Linked DNA regions of Homo sapiens: region 2 is linked to region 1. Evidence: promoter capture Hi-C in 16 types of primary human blood cells and fetal thymus (Javierre and others, 2016). All regions are on one chromosome and are shown on one strand. Each heading gives the region's core, a stretch centred on a gene start or on the middle of the fragment in contact. The rest is flanking DNA. Distances are from core to core; before and after follow the strand shown.

Evidence for each region. Contacts are between HindIII fragments. The CHiCAGO score rates a contact against its expected background, and 5 or more counts as called.
Region 2: the fragment with the promoter of PRPF40A here is called in contact with the fragment with the promoter of R3HDM1 in region 1 in 3 of 17 cell types (non-activated CD4 T cells, total B cells and naive CD4 T cells); the score reaches 10.8 in non-activated CD4 T cells.

Annotation. Positions count from the first base shown.
Region 1 is chr2:135,526,840-135,533,560 of GRCh38, reverse strand. It overlaps R3HDM1 (R3H domain containing 1), which reads right to left and starts at 2,077. Exons shown (of 27, transcript NM_001378107.1): 1 at 1,928-2,077. ZRANB3 (zinc finger RANBP2-type containing 3) reads left to right here and starts at 2,343. Exons shown (of 21, transcript NM_032143.4): 1 at 2,343-2,434. RefSeq lists a silencer at 1,911-2,100 and enhancers at 2,068-2,362, 2,331-2,600, 2,951-3,030. The HindIII fragment of the contact is 3,394 bases long and covers 1-2,189 here.
Region 2 is chr2:152,712,655-152,719,232 of GRCh38, reverse strand. It overlaps PRPF40A (pre-mRNA processing factor 40A), which reads left to right and starts at 1,772. Exons shown (of 26, transcript NM_001365597.4): 1 at 1,772-2,003; 2 at 3,107-3,238. The coding sequence starts at 1,794. ARL6IP6 (ARF like GTPase 6 interacting protein 6) reads right to left here and starts at 613. Exons shown (of 4, transcript NM_152522.7): 1 at 209-613. The coding sequence starts at 608. RefSeq lists enhancers at 443-642, 873-962, 983-1,052, 519-1,224, 1,773-2,072 and 2 more and a silencer at 1,273-1,372. The HindIII fragment of the contact is 8,844 bases long and covers 1-2,067 here.

The DNA of each region.
Region 1 (6,721 bases), core at 828-3,327:
AGTTAAGCATTATCATCCTCATTTTACAGATGAGGAAACCGAACTGAGGTTCATGGAGGGATCCAACAGCCAGGAAGAAAATGTAGAAGACTCCTAAATTTTCAACAGCTCTTTCTCTATATAAATCACCCAAGATCTGAAAGTATCGATTGTATAATTTATCAATTAACTCTTAAGTTCTGGAAAATACTATGCTGGCAGCTGGCAATATATGTTACAGGAACTCTGTGGGGATCTCAGGGGACTTGCCTTCCAAGGCTGTGTATTTATTTCTTTATTTTTTTGAGACCATGTTCTGCTATATTGCCTAGGCTGGCCTTGAACTCCTGGGCTCAAGTGATCCTCTCACCTCACACTCCTGAGTAGCAGGGACTACAGGTGACTACTACATGACTGGCAATTTTCATTTTTTTAATAGATACCACAAATTTCCTCCAGGACCTGAATGTATCTATGTCAATTCTGTAACTAGGTGTACTAGTTATGGAATACAGAAGATCATTAAGCCACCATAGTCTTCTCAAACCCTGAAGAAATGATCAAAACTCAGATGTTTCCTCAGAACCCAAGTTTATTCTGCTAACAAGTAAACCTCAGAAATGGGCCTAGAATTTTATCTCTGATCACAGTTATGTCTACTACAGACTATAGAATCCATGATTTAAAGACATATTCTTCCAGGCATAAAAGCAGAGTGGTATTTGAAAAGACGAGCGTACTCCATCAAAATGTGATGAAGAAATCATAACAGAATGCCCTAAAAATAGCCAAATATGCCAAATTTTTAGAAATTGAGACGTGTCCAATTATTCCTGTCAGACTGGTATCCTATTACTTAGAAGATCTTGTTTCACATATTATAAATGGGTAGACTTTCAGTTTGACTTTAATCATCTTTTCATTTAAAAGTTTTTGTCATCAATGATATTTAAGCTAAAAAAGGTTTCTTACAGTTACAATTAGGTAAACTATAACCATGAAGATATATATATATATATTTAGAAAATTTTATTAGAAAAACCATTTGCTGTTCACTAATCCTAATTTGGAAAGCACCTCTTCTTCACCTTTTACTTAACTATCCCAGGACAATTACACACGGAGCATGATAGTCCCAATAATTTAAGTTTCTTTATAAAAACAAGCTCAACAGAGTCACCCTTTGCACCTAGTCACAGCAACAAAAGAAAACAAAACACCAAAAAACTTCAAAGCCCACAAAGATTTGTTGGCAGCCTAAGGCTCAGGAATCAAAACGTGTGTAAATCTGATCCCGGGGGACCGTGGCACTGACAGTCATTCAACTTTCTTTTTAATATTCCCATTGTGCTTTTTCTGGTACCACAGGGAAAATGTACCTACATTTTACCAACCGGTCGAAGCTGAAAATTCTCTTGGTGCAAGGCCAGGGGATGCGGCCGTGGGGCGGCCGGGGGAGCCCGGGGCACCGGCGCCAGCCACACGAGAGAGCAGTACCACGCTCTTGGCAGGCCTGCTGTGGCTGGCTCCCGAGTCCCTGGGGCTGCAAGAGCAGCCGCGGAGGCAGCAGCAGCAGCCATGGCAGGGACTCGGAAACCTTTCCCCTGCCTCCTCCGCTAGGCCTCGAGGGGTTTGCTTTTCACATGGCCCCCGGGTGGGGGCGGTGGGCACAAGGCAGTGGCTGCAGCTGCAGCCGGAGCCGCAGCCGCGGGCCAGGCGAGCCTGGCTCACTCGGAACCCGACCTAACGGCGGGCTGGCAGCAGCGGGACGTCAGAAGGCCCTGGCTGAAGCGCCGACGACCCGGCGGGGAAGGCCACCTTTCCACACACCACATCTCTCCCCTGCCTGCCTCCTTCTCCGTTAGCGCTACCGGTTGGCGGGCGGGGGAGGGGAGCAAGGCGCGTTATTCCCGGGGAGCTGGACGGGGGAGGGAAGGGCATCTCTTACCCGCGTTACTGAGGAGGAGGAGGCGGTTGGAGCGCGGCGCGGCGGGGCGACGGCGGGGCTGGGTGGGTGCAAGTAAGAGTCTTACGAAAGGGAATTAACCCCATCACCAGCCCGGACACCGGCTCCAGCGGCAGCCGCGGCTGGCAGAATCCCGCCCCTTCCCACCACGCACTAGCCCCGCCTCTTCGTTCTCTTTGAGCGGCAGCCGACTATTCATAGGTTGTACGTCCCCGGAGTGACATGAGTTTTGCCCAATCAAGCTTGAAAAAAACTGTCTTCTCTCCACCCCTTTACCTCCTCCCAGGCCGCGGAGAGCCGTGCCAAATCTTCCTCCAACCTCAAGAGAAAAAGAACCAATCCGTGGTAAGTAACCGCCCTTGAAGGACGCAAAAGCCAACCAATGGTAAAACTAGGAGGACAGCCATTTTGCCCACTTGTAAAAGAGCTACCTTTTCCCACGAGTTGGAGCCTGAGGTGCGGAGTTTCGTGAGTTTTTACTGACTCGAGGTATTTAAAAGACAACCAGATCTCCTCAGTGGGTATTTATAGTGCTTTTTAGGGGTAAAGGAAAATTATCCTCCATGTGGGGCGAAGTGAGGCATGCTGCTTAAGGGGTTGGCTCCTCCCCTTAGCGCTAACGGGTTCTGAAACGAACACCTGGTTTCTCCAGCTTCAGTGGCGGAGGGCGGGGTGATTGCTCTTTTCGGCCTGGAGCGGACTACGATTCCCAACATGCTTTTCCCCTACTCATAACTTCTCCTCCGTTCACTTGTCGCGGTGCTTGGCTGGAATTGTAGTTCCTGAGAGGTACCCATGCCGCCGCTTCAGCCAATGAAAAGGGACAGAGTTTTGAATGACTTGAAATTAGGGCGGAGAACGAGTTGTCGCGAGGCTGTACAGAGCCCTTTTCGCAACCCTAACGGGAGAGAAGTGATGGAAGAAGGGTAGCCGGAAGAGTTTCCTCAAAATACCATAGGGGTTTTAAATTATTAGTACGTATTTAAACTCATCTACTTTCACGTTGTCCCGTTGAACGTCACTTCCGCTTAGGGGCGGACACGTCCCAAACCTGTGGCGGGAGTTGGAGATTCTGCGGCGAATACGCCAGGTGTGACTGGCTGGAAGTGGCGTGGCTGGCAAGTCGCTAGTTTCTTGCATGGGAGATAAAAAGTTGAACGGAATTTAATGGCATTTTAAGAAAGAGTGGGTGACATGGGATGGGGGTAATTTCCAGGGCCCTTATTACTTTCTCCACCCCGGCCTTCAATCGCGGGCGTCTCGGCCTGCTCGCTATTAGATTGCACGGCTAAATTTGTAGAAAGTACCTCTACTGCCTTTAGTCTTCGCGTGGTCAGTTTGAACTGTAAAGACAGGGCTCCGAAGTTCTGAACTACATTTACAGACACACTTTTTTTTTTTTTTTTTGAGACGGAGTCTTGCTCTGTCCCCAGGCTGGAGTGCAGTGGTGGGATCTTGGCTCACTGATTCACGCCATTCTCCTGTCTCAGCCTCCGGAGTAGCTGGGATTACAGGCGCGCGCCACTCAGCCCAGCTAATTTTTTGTATTTTTAGTAGAGACGGGGTTTCACCATGTTGGCCAGGATGGTCTCGATCTCCTGACCTCGTGATCCGCCCACCTTGGCCTCCCAAAGTGCTGGGATTACAGGCGTGAGCCACCGCGCCCGGCCACAAACACACTTCTAAAGTCAGCTTGGAAGGAAAAGAGTCACAGAAAAGGGCTTTTCTGTTTGAAGGATTGATAATCAAGAGTGGCCCCATCACCACTCTTTGAGTAACGACCATTTATTAAACGAGTGGCAGACAGGCGCGGTGGCTCAGACCTGTAATCCTAGCACTTTGGGAGGCCGAGGCGGGAGGATTACTTGAGGTCAGGAGTTCGAGACCAGCCTGGGCAACATGGTGAAATCTTGTGTCTGCTAAAAACTCACACACACACATTAGCCGGACGTGGTGGCAGAGATCTGTAGGATCTGTAGTCCCAGCTACACGGGAGGCTGAGGCAGGAGAATCGCTTCAACTTCGGAAGTGGTTACAGTGACCCGAGATCGCGCCACTGCACTCCAGCCTCGGGTGACAGAGCGAGACTCCGTCTCAAAACAAAAACAAAAACAAAAAACGTGTGACTACAGGGTGCCAACTATAATACACCGATGAATAAAGGCATCACTAAAAAGATGCCTTTATTCATCGGCCACATGGAGCCCACAGCCTAATAATCTTAGCACGTAAGGCCCTGATTTATGCCTCCTTCAGAGTTCAAGGGCGACTGTATGTATACTTTTGGACATTCCATTTAAGGTACCCAGGAAAACTGATTGAATAAAGAAGATACAAGTTACAGAAAAGGGTTTTTCCCTCCCTATGCGTGTGCCCTTTATTCTTAAACTCTTTGCTTTATTATTTTGACTGAGACTTTCTCAGATAAATTCTAATTCAGTTTACTCCATGATTTTACTGAGATTTTCTCTTATAAATCCTGTTGTATTTATGGTATGAGCGCTTAACACTGTATTGGGTACTATACCAGACTTTGGGTAGAGCAGTGCCTAAAAAGACAGGCTCCTTGTCCAAAAGTTGTGAGGAAGAGAGAGGCTAAACAAAATTGTAATGTCACTTACTGTTTCAATCTCTAAGTCAAGTCTTCTTTAGTCACATTTTGTATGTTTATTTGGTCCCTTCTTTACATTCTACCTTTGGATTAAAATAAGCACGTTTTCCTCTTTGCATTGTTTTTACTAAAGCACTAATCTGTGTCCAATACTAACGAGTGATGTTTGTATACAAAGTAAGATGGTAAATTTTATAGTGTAATCCTGCTAGATATAGGAATGTAACCATACCTTGCAGCAAGACATTTTTGTAGATCTACCAGGCAAAGTGTTGTCTCTTGCTTTTTAATGCAATTAGGATATTCAGTGATAATTTAGCAATGCAGTCTACTGTAGATGCTTAGTTTTTTTTTTTATTTGTTTGTGTCAGGAGTTCTTCCAGTGTAAATCTAGTCACTAAATAGTAATGATGGCCATCATTTTATTGAGTTTCGTCTGAGCCAGAAATGATGTTATGTGTGATAAGTACATTTTCCTTATGACAAACTGTAAGTCTTCTTGACATTTTTATATTTGAAGAAAGTGAGGCTCAATGAAGGTAAATAAGACTTGTAGAGGTCTGACCTGGTGGCTCATACCTGTAATCCCAGCACTTTAAGATGTCAAGGCAAGAGAATCACTTGAGTCTAGCAGTTCTAGACCAGCCTGGGCAACATAGGAAATTTCAGTCTCTACAAAAAATAAAAAAATTAGCTGGGCGTAGTGGTGCACAACTGTGGTCCAGCTACACAGGAGGCTGAGGTGAGGGAATCGCTGGGGCCCAGGAGGTCAAAGCTGCAATGAGCTGTGATTGAGCCACTGCACTCCAGCCTGGGGCAACACAGGAGACTCTGTCTCAAACAAACCACAAAAAAAAAAAAAAGAGCTTTAAGGTCTGAGGCCCCTATTAAATAAATTTGAGTTGAGATTCATATCCAGGCCTGTCTAATTCCTGAACTCTTAACCACTATTCATCTTGCCTTTCAAATTTTTATTAATCCTTCAACGTGTGCCAGACACATAATGATGAGGGAAACAAAATTCCATCCCAGGATTCTGGAGCCAATGGTGGCAGTCACTTCCTCTTGTAAGCCATCTTTTGCCATGTACGTAATACTTAGTCCACACGGGAAAATGTAAAAAAGAAAGTAAAGGTCATCTGCAATTCTATTACCAAGAGATGCCACTGTTTACACATATCTCTGTCTTTAGTTACAGGTATGGACACATGTTTTAATGATATAATGCTTTGCTTTTTTTAAATTGAAAAAACTTGCAACAGTGGGCTATGGTTGTGGCTGAATAGATACCAGTATTATCATTTGTGATAGCTACTTTATTGTATAGCTCTAGCATAACCAATTCCCTGCTGATGGATATTTGCATTGTTTTCAATTAATAATTTATTTTTTATTGTGTTAAAAACGCATAACACAATATATCATCTTAACCATCTTTTTTTTTCTTTTTTTATTTTGCGACAGAGTCTTGCTCTGTCTTCCAGGCTGGAGTACAGTGGCTCACTGCAACCTCTGCCAACTGGGTTCAAGTGATTCTCCTGTCTCAGCCTCCTGAGTAGCTGGGATTATAGGCATGCACCATCATGCCTGGCTAACTTTTGTATTTTTAATAGAGATGGGGTTTCACCATGTTGCCCAGGCTGGTCTCGAACTCCTGACCTCGAGTGATCCACCCACCTCACCTCCCAAAGTGCTGGGATTACAGGTGTGAGCCACCGTGCCTGGTCATCTTAACCATTTTTAAATGTATAGTGTGACCCTGAGTCTTCTCTGAGGCCCCATGTGTGGGTGCCAGATGATTGTCGACAAAAAGAGTCAAACTGTAAAATATGAGGAGATTTATGCTGAGCCAAATATGAGTGACCATGGCCCATGACACAGCCCTCGGGAGGTCCTGAGAACATGTGCCCAAGGTGGTTGGGGTACAGCTTGGTTTTATGTATTTTAGGAAGGCATGAGACATCAATCAAATACATTTAAGAAATGCATTGGTTTGGTTTAGAAAGGCGGGACAACTCAAAGTGGGGACTTCCAGGCTATAGGTAAATTTAAACATTTTCTGGTTGACAATTGGTTGAGGTTGTTTGAAGACCTGGGATTGACAGAAAGGAATGCTCAGGTTAAAGATAAAGGATTGTGGAGACCAAGTTTTATTGTACAGAGGA
Region 2 (6,578 bases), core at 523-3,022, about 17 Mb before region 1:
AAATACGTCTCCTGATCATGGATCAGGACGCTCCACTTAGAAAAGGCAAAGGGCGGGAGAGCAAAGTAAGATGCAAATGAGGACTCTGGGTGAAAGCAGCTGCCAGCCTGAGGGCTTAGCGCGAGGGAAAGGGAGATGGGTGGAGACGAGAGCCACACCCTGGCTCAACTTTACTCTGGACAGACTTTCAAGGCGTCGGCTTCAATACCTTTAACGATCAAGTAGGCGATGGCGAGGAGGAAGGCGAGAAGAATGGCGAAGAGCAGCGAGCAGAGAATAGAGAGGACCTGGACCGGCCACCGCCGAGGCTGGGCTCTGCTGCCCGCGGCCGCGGGAAAGATACCATTGCGCTTATCGGGCAGAACGGGCGACCCGTTCCCGTCCGGCGGGAGCACCGAGCGCTTTCTGGGCTCTGACCACGCCCCAGCCGAGAACTCCGCCCGCAGGTCGCGGGCCACTTGGTCGCATCCCTCCTCCTCGTCGACTTCGCCTTCACCCCAGCTGTCCCCCTGAGTAAAGGAGGAATACGATGGCCGAGCCACAGGGCCCGGGGTGCCGGGACCGCGGCGCCGCAGAGCCGACCGCCACCCGCTCTCAGCAAACGACATGGCGCGAAACACAACGAAACCCGCGGAGAACGAGCCTCTCCCACCTGCCCCGCCCCGGGTCCGCAACAGCCAATCCGCGGCAGTGGCCGCTACCACCAGGCCTCAGAGCCCAGGGGTAAACCACGGAGAGCAAGGGTGGGCGGCGGGTTGCAAAGGAAGCCGCAGGGCCAAAGGAGAGGCGGAATGCGCTTCGACCAGAGCTCGACCCCAGGGCTGTAGCCGGAAAGGGGAGCAGGAAAGCGCGCAGGGAGAAGCGAGCGGAGGCCGAAGGCTGTCGAGTATCCACTCCCTGCGGGGCTTCGTCCCGGCCGGAGACCTCCGCCACCCCCGCGTCACCAACGGGAGCGCGCGCCCCGACAGCCCCAAAGCCTCATCTTTTCGACGCCGGGTCCTAGCGCCCGCTCGCGCCCTCGGAGACACATTCCCGAACCTATTTGTCTTCTCCCTTCTTCCCCACTACGCTCACACTCTTCTCCAGGTTCCCCCATTAAGGGCACCTCTCTACCTGGCGCTCTCGCGGTTCCTTAACTGCTCACCCCCATCTCCCTTTAGTGTGGTTCTCCCCACCCGTACTACAACTTCCCTCCCGCTACTCGACACGCCTCCTTCCCCAGGCGCGCGCTCTCCACCTGGTGCGTACGGAGATCGAACCCTCTCCTCCGAACCCCTCCTTTCGCCTTCCCCGCCTCCTCCCCTCCGCCTCGAGCACCGCGCGCGCGCATTCGGTCCCAGCCACCGCTAACACTACAGGCTGCTTACCCCCGCCCCCTCCACCCTACCCCTGGCGGCCTCAGGTTTGTGGGGCGTACGTAACTCGGGCGGGGAGGGTGAAGGTGGCAGACCCCCACTGCCCCACCCCCTACGGGGTGAGGCGGTCTAAGCTCGGGAAGCTGGGACACTGTTGTCTTCCCTTCCCCTGGGGAAGTTGGTAGAGTTTTCCCGACGGAGGACTCGGCGCAGAAACTTCCTCCGTCCTCCTCCTCCCCCCCCCCCATGCAGGCGACGCCGAGTGAGGCTGAGGCTGGGGGCGAATCGCCGCAGAGCTGCGTGTCGGCGGCGCATTCTGATTGGACAGCGGGGAAGCCCGTCAGCCTGTTGGCCCCGCTGATCCCGCCCCGTAGCGCAGGGCAGCCTTTAACCTTTAGCCCCAGTGGGCGCCAGCCACTCAGATCGCTTCTTGTTGGTATGTGTAGCGGCAGTGGCCGCCGGCGGAGCAGTCTGAGCCCGACGATGAGGCCGGGGACGGGAGCTGAGCGTGGAGGCCTCATGGTGAGTGAAATGGAGAGCCATCCTCCCTCGCAGGGTCCTGGGGACGGGGAGCGGAGATTGTCCGGCTCAAGCCTCTGCTCCGGCTCTTGGGTCTCTGCTGACGGCTTCCTGAGGAGACGGCCCTCGGTAAGGGATCAGTGGGGCAGGGGGAAGGCGGCACAATGAAAAACGGAGTGAGAAACAGGAAGCTTTCTCCGAAAGGAGAAGAAGATAAGAGTGGACGAAGGAAGAACTCGAGATGGTGGGATATGTTCTGAGGGAGAGAAGTGGAGGGTGGAAATGCACAAAGAGAAGGATGTGAGACCCTGGAAGTTCCCCGTGGGCTTGGCCTAGACAGATGCGTGGTGAAGGTGCTGGCTCTTGGGCGGGGTGAGCGTCTTGGAGCTTTAGGCCCGATTTTAGCTGGGAGGGGGAGGCAGGGGCTTGATACTGTAAGACTTTAACAGCGGCTGCCAAAATTTGTTTTCATTAGTCGTCGGGGTGGTCTGCAGGGGGAACTGTTGGGACAATTGGCAGGAGATAATTAGGTGGTTTTAATTTAAAACATAGAACAATGGACTCATCGGTAAAGAAAGTAGTTGTCTTTTTAAACTGCGTTAAAAAGGATGAATTAGTTGTTTGCATTTAGTGTCCGTGAGTGACAGAACCTCAGTCTTTGAAAATGTATTTTTGGCAGAAGGAATTTTACCTGTCTTAAAGGTTATGTTAGGAAATAAGTTTGTTAGGAGTGAATTGTGCCTGGGTAGCCATACTGTTTGTGTTTTGTAAGACCGACTCTCACCTGAGTTAATTGGATAGAGCATTTTAAAGTTTAAAATCAGTAGTGTTATAAAATAACAATAGCTGGCTATCTTTTATATCTGCATGAAATAGGAGAGTTGTTGTTTTCACCATAACAGTTTTAAAATTAGTATTCAATGTGTATCCTCCAAGCTTAGCAAGCCAATTAGTAGCTGGTTAAGTCAGTGCTTAAAAAAAAGAGAGAGAAAACCTATGATCCAGCGGTCCAGGATTCATCTTAACTTTTCCCATTTTTTTACGGAATTTGCAAGCTCGTTTTAAATACTAGCAGAATGCGTTTTGTTTGAAACAAGGTATAGACTAATCCAATGATGTTATTACACATAAGCTTAATATTATGTCGCTTCAGATAACTGATCTGTTGAAATGAGATTTTTGAGAAGCATTTAGTATTATTTGCTCATTTAAAAATGTTCACTGTTTTTCAGATGGGGCACCCTGGCATGCATTATGCCCCAATGGGAATGCACCCTATGGGTCAGAGAGCGAATATGCCTCCTGTACCTCATGGAATGATGCCGCAGATGATGCCCCCTATGGGAGGGCCACCAATGGGACAAGTAAGACTGTTTTTGTTTTATTTTGCATTTATTTATTTGTTTTTGCCTCAGGTATTCTATCAAGATTTCAGAATCTAGGTCAGTAGTTATAGCTGTTTAATGATTAGTTTATGCCCGAATAATTTCAAATAAGCCAAATGTTAAATCATGACTGTAACGGAAATTTGAATAATGGAAAAGTCTTCTGAGAAATTTAAATAATGAAAAAGTCTTCTGAGAAATTTACTGATGACCTCAAAACTAAGAATTTTTTTCTTTATTATTTAAAAGTAAAGTGTGGATCCAGGCTTTTATTTTTAATGATTATTTTTTCAAGAATGCCAATTGAAGTTGATGGTCTAAGTAAATATTATCTGATACAGCAACATAACTGATTTTGGTAGACCATGTAAATAAATAGAATCTGAAAATAGCTATTGTTTTGGTTTAGAGCGAATTTTATTCCTGAAATATCTTCCTCTTTGTGTGTTGGAGGAGGGTGAGGGAGGGTGGGGAGTTTGTGCTCTATAATTCTGATTCTTCATAGGACAGTGCCAATAGGTAGTTCATTTTCCACTTATACTATTTTTTTTTAATGCTTGTTGCTTCTACACTCCTGCTTATGAGCTGTCCCTTCCATCTCTAGCATAAATTGTAAATGGACATTTTGTAGGAGTGATTTGGATCAAAAGGTTTTAATGCTGATTCAGTGATTTCGGTAGAACTGAGTTTCTAGAGAAGCATCCAAGAAAGGTAACAGGTTCAGTTACCATGAGTAATTTTGTGCTTCATGTTAAGTTCTATAATAGATCTTTAGGTGGCTGGGTTATTTCCATTTGAGTATTTCCATAAATCATCAAAAATTTAGGCTAACAAAATATTTTGGAAGCCAATTTCATGTGATCTTTTGCTAATTAGTACTGTTTGATAATTGTTTAAGCTTTCATGGTTAAAGTTATTGGTGAAATTGCAGTGGGAAAAGGAGCTTGCTATGTGTCTGTCTCTTTTTACTTAACCTTAAGAGTAGAAGGGCTTAATGTCCAGTGATTTTCCTCTTTTTTTTTTTAATTTGGAATATTGCCCTTAATTTTGTTAAAAAACAAAACAAAACCTTTATTCAAAGGCACCAGCCCCAAAAGATTCTGCTTGCAGGAGTTCTTTAAATAAAAGAGCCTTTTATTCTGTTACTCTAGAATAACACAAATTTTAAAACTCTCTAGGTGATGGAGAAACAACTTTGATTCCTCTTCTGTTTCTTTCCATCTCTAAGGAGCAAGGAGCTCTTCTTGTTTTCTTGGTAGAGCTGCTCTAACTAGATAATGAGCTTTAAAAATATTTATTCTTTAAATGCTCTGGTTCTTATTTAAAATTAGTTTCTTTCCACAGAAAGATAAAATAAAACAATTTGCTACTGCCAGATGCTTCTCTCTTTTCTGGGGCCTTCTGTTTCCATTGGGCCAATCAAGGTAAGTTTTGCAAGGGATTGACCTGCTTACCCTTGCTGTAATGGTGCTATTGCACTACCAAAACCAAGATACCAGCTAGTCATAGTTCTAGTTAAAAAAAAAAATGCAGATTTTATTTTTTAAAAGTACTTTCATGTATCTCATTGACATAAGCTGGTCACAGTTTGCTTTATGGCCCTTTCTCTTTAGCTGTATCAGTGACCATCTTTCTAGTAAGTTTACTTGCTACTCGGTACACATCCATTCAAATAACTGATTTTTTTGGTGTGGTTTTCTTCTACTTTTTCCTAGGCTAATATATGCCACGTGCCTTTAAGTAGACCTAATTATTTAGATGTTTAGAATTCTTCTCCCTCTGAAGGCTCCTGTTAGTATAATAAATAAATGTTTTAGTAGGAGTTATGCCCTGAAAGTCCCAAAAGAATCTCCGCTGTTTTTGTCAGAATTATATAATTCCCTTTTATCCCCTTAATATTTCACTAACAAATATGGGTCCCAAATCTTGGTAAAACAAATTCTTGTTTTAGCTTTATAACAGACTGGGAGAGCATGGATAATTTGAATTCTCAAATCAGAAATCATATTTGAAACTCTGTAAACATTGCTTTAAAAATTAAAGGTGATAATAAATAGGACAATTGATCCTTTTTCCTGCATTATTTCTTCTGCCACTCTTGGAAGTACTCAGGAGGAATAAGTGGTCAGAAGATAATTGAGAAGAAGCAGGATGTCTGTCTGTATCATTCACAGTAGTGACAGTTGGGAGGGTTCTGCCATGCAATTTAAAAAAGTCAGTTCACAAATTCTTTAGACTTTGGGACTGAAGGTTATAAAAACCTTCATGTGTTGACTGGTTTGCATGAACATCTCATGCTGGGACTAGCTAAAGACTAAAATTGGTGGCAGTCTTACTTGCCAAATAATTGTGGTCTTTGGAATGTTACCAATATGACATGAAACTGTAAAACTTGTTTGTAAAATAATATGCAGACTGGGTAGCATAATGATGTACGGAAGCCAGGGTTCATAATTTCTCAAATGCATCAAGCTATTTAGCTTAAAGAAGTGGTGTGTTCAAATTTTTTTTTTCTTAATTCATGAGATGACCTAGAGTGCCATCTCATGCATTTAGGCTGACTCTTAGTAGTAATAAATATTTGATGATTATCAAATTGAGCTTAATATTCTTTCAGGTTTATTTCAGTTTTCTATCTTGTAGATTAAATTTGCCTCTTATTCTATATAACTTTATAGGAAAGTCATACTTTTAGAGTTATAGGATCTTATAGCTGAAAGGGACCTTACAGGTTGTTTAAGCTTTAAATAATATGTGATTTAAGATGCTTTGAGGATCACTGGTTAAATGTTAGTAAAGAAAGATAAAGAATTTTCCCTGCTGGATGGCAGTACTCAAAAATTTCCCATTGGGAGGCTGAGGCGGGTGCATCGCTTGAGCTCAGGAGTTGGAGACCAGCCTGGGCAACATGGTGAAACCCCATCTCTACAAAAACTATTTAAAAATAAGCTGGGTGTGGTGGTGTGCGTCTGTCGTCCCAGCTACTTAGGGGGCTGAGGCAGAAGGATTGCTTGAACCTGGGAGGTCGAGGCTGCAGTGAGTCAAGATCACGCCTTGCACTCCATCCTGGGTGACAAAGTGAGACCCTATCTCAAAAAAATAAAGATTTTCTGTAGAGATTTCTATCAATAAAATTATGTGTGAGGCTGTCTTCTTCCTCAGTGTCCATAGTAAATACTGTTTTCATGTCTTTTGTGTTTTCTACACAAAGGACATGCAGGTCCTGCCATCTTTATCACAGATGATTATGCCTTTGCCCCAGAGTCATGCTAGCTGGCTCTTTTTTTTTCCTCCCTATTTGAGTCTTTATTTTCCTCTA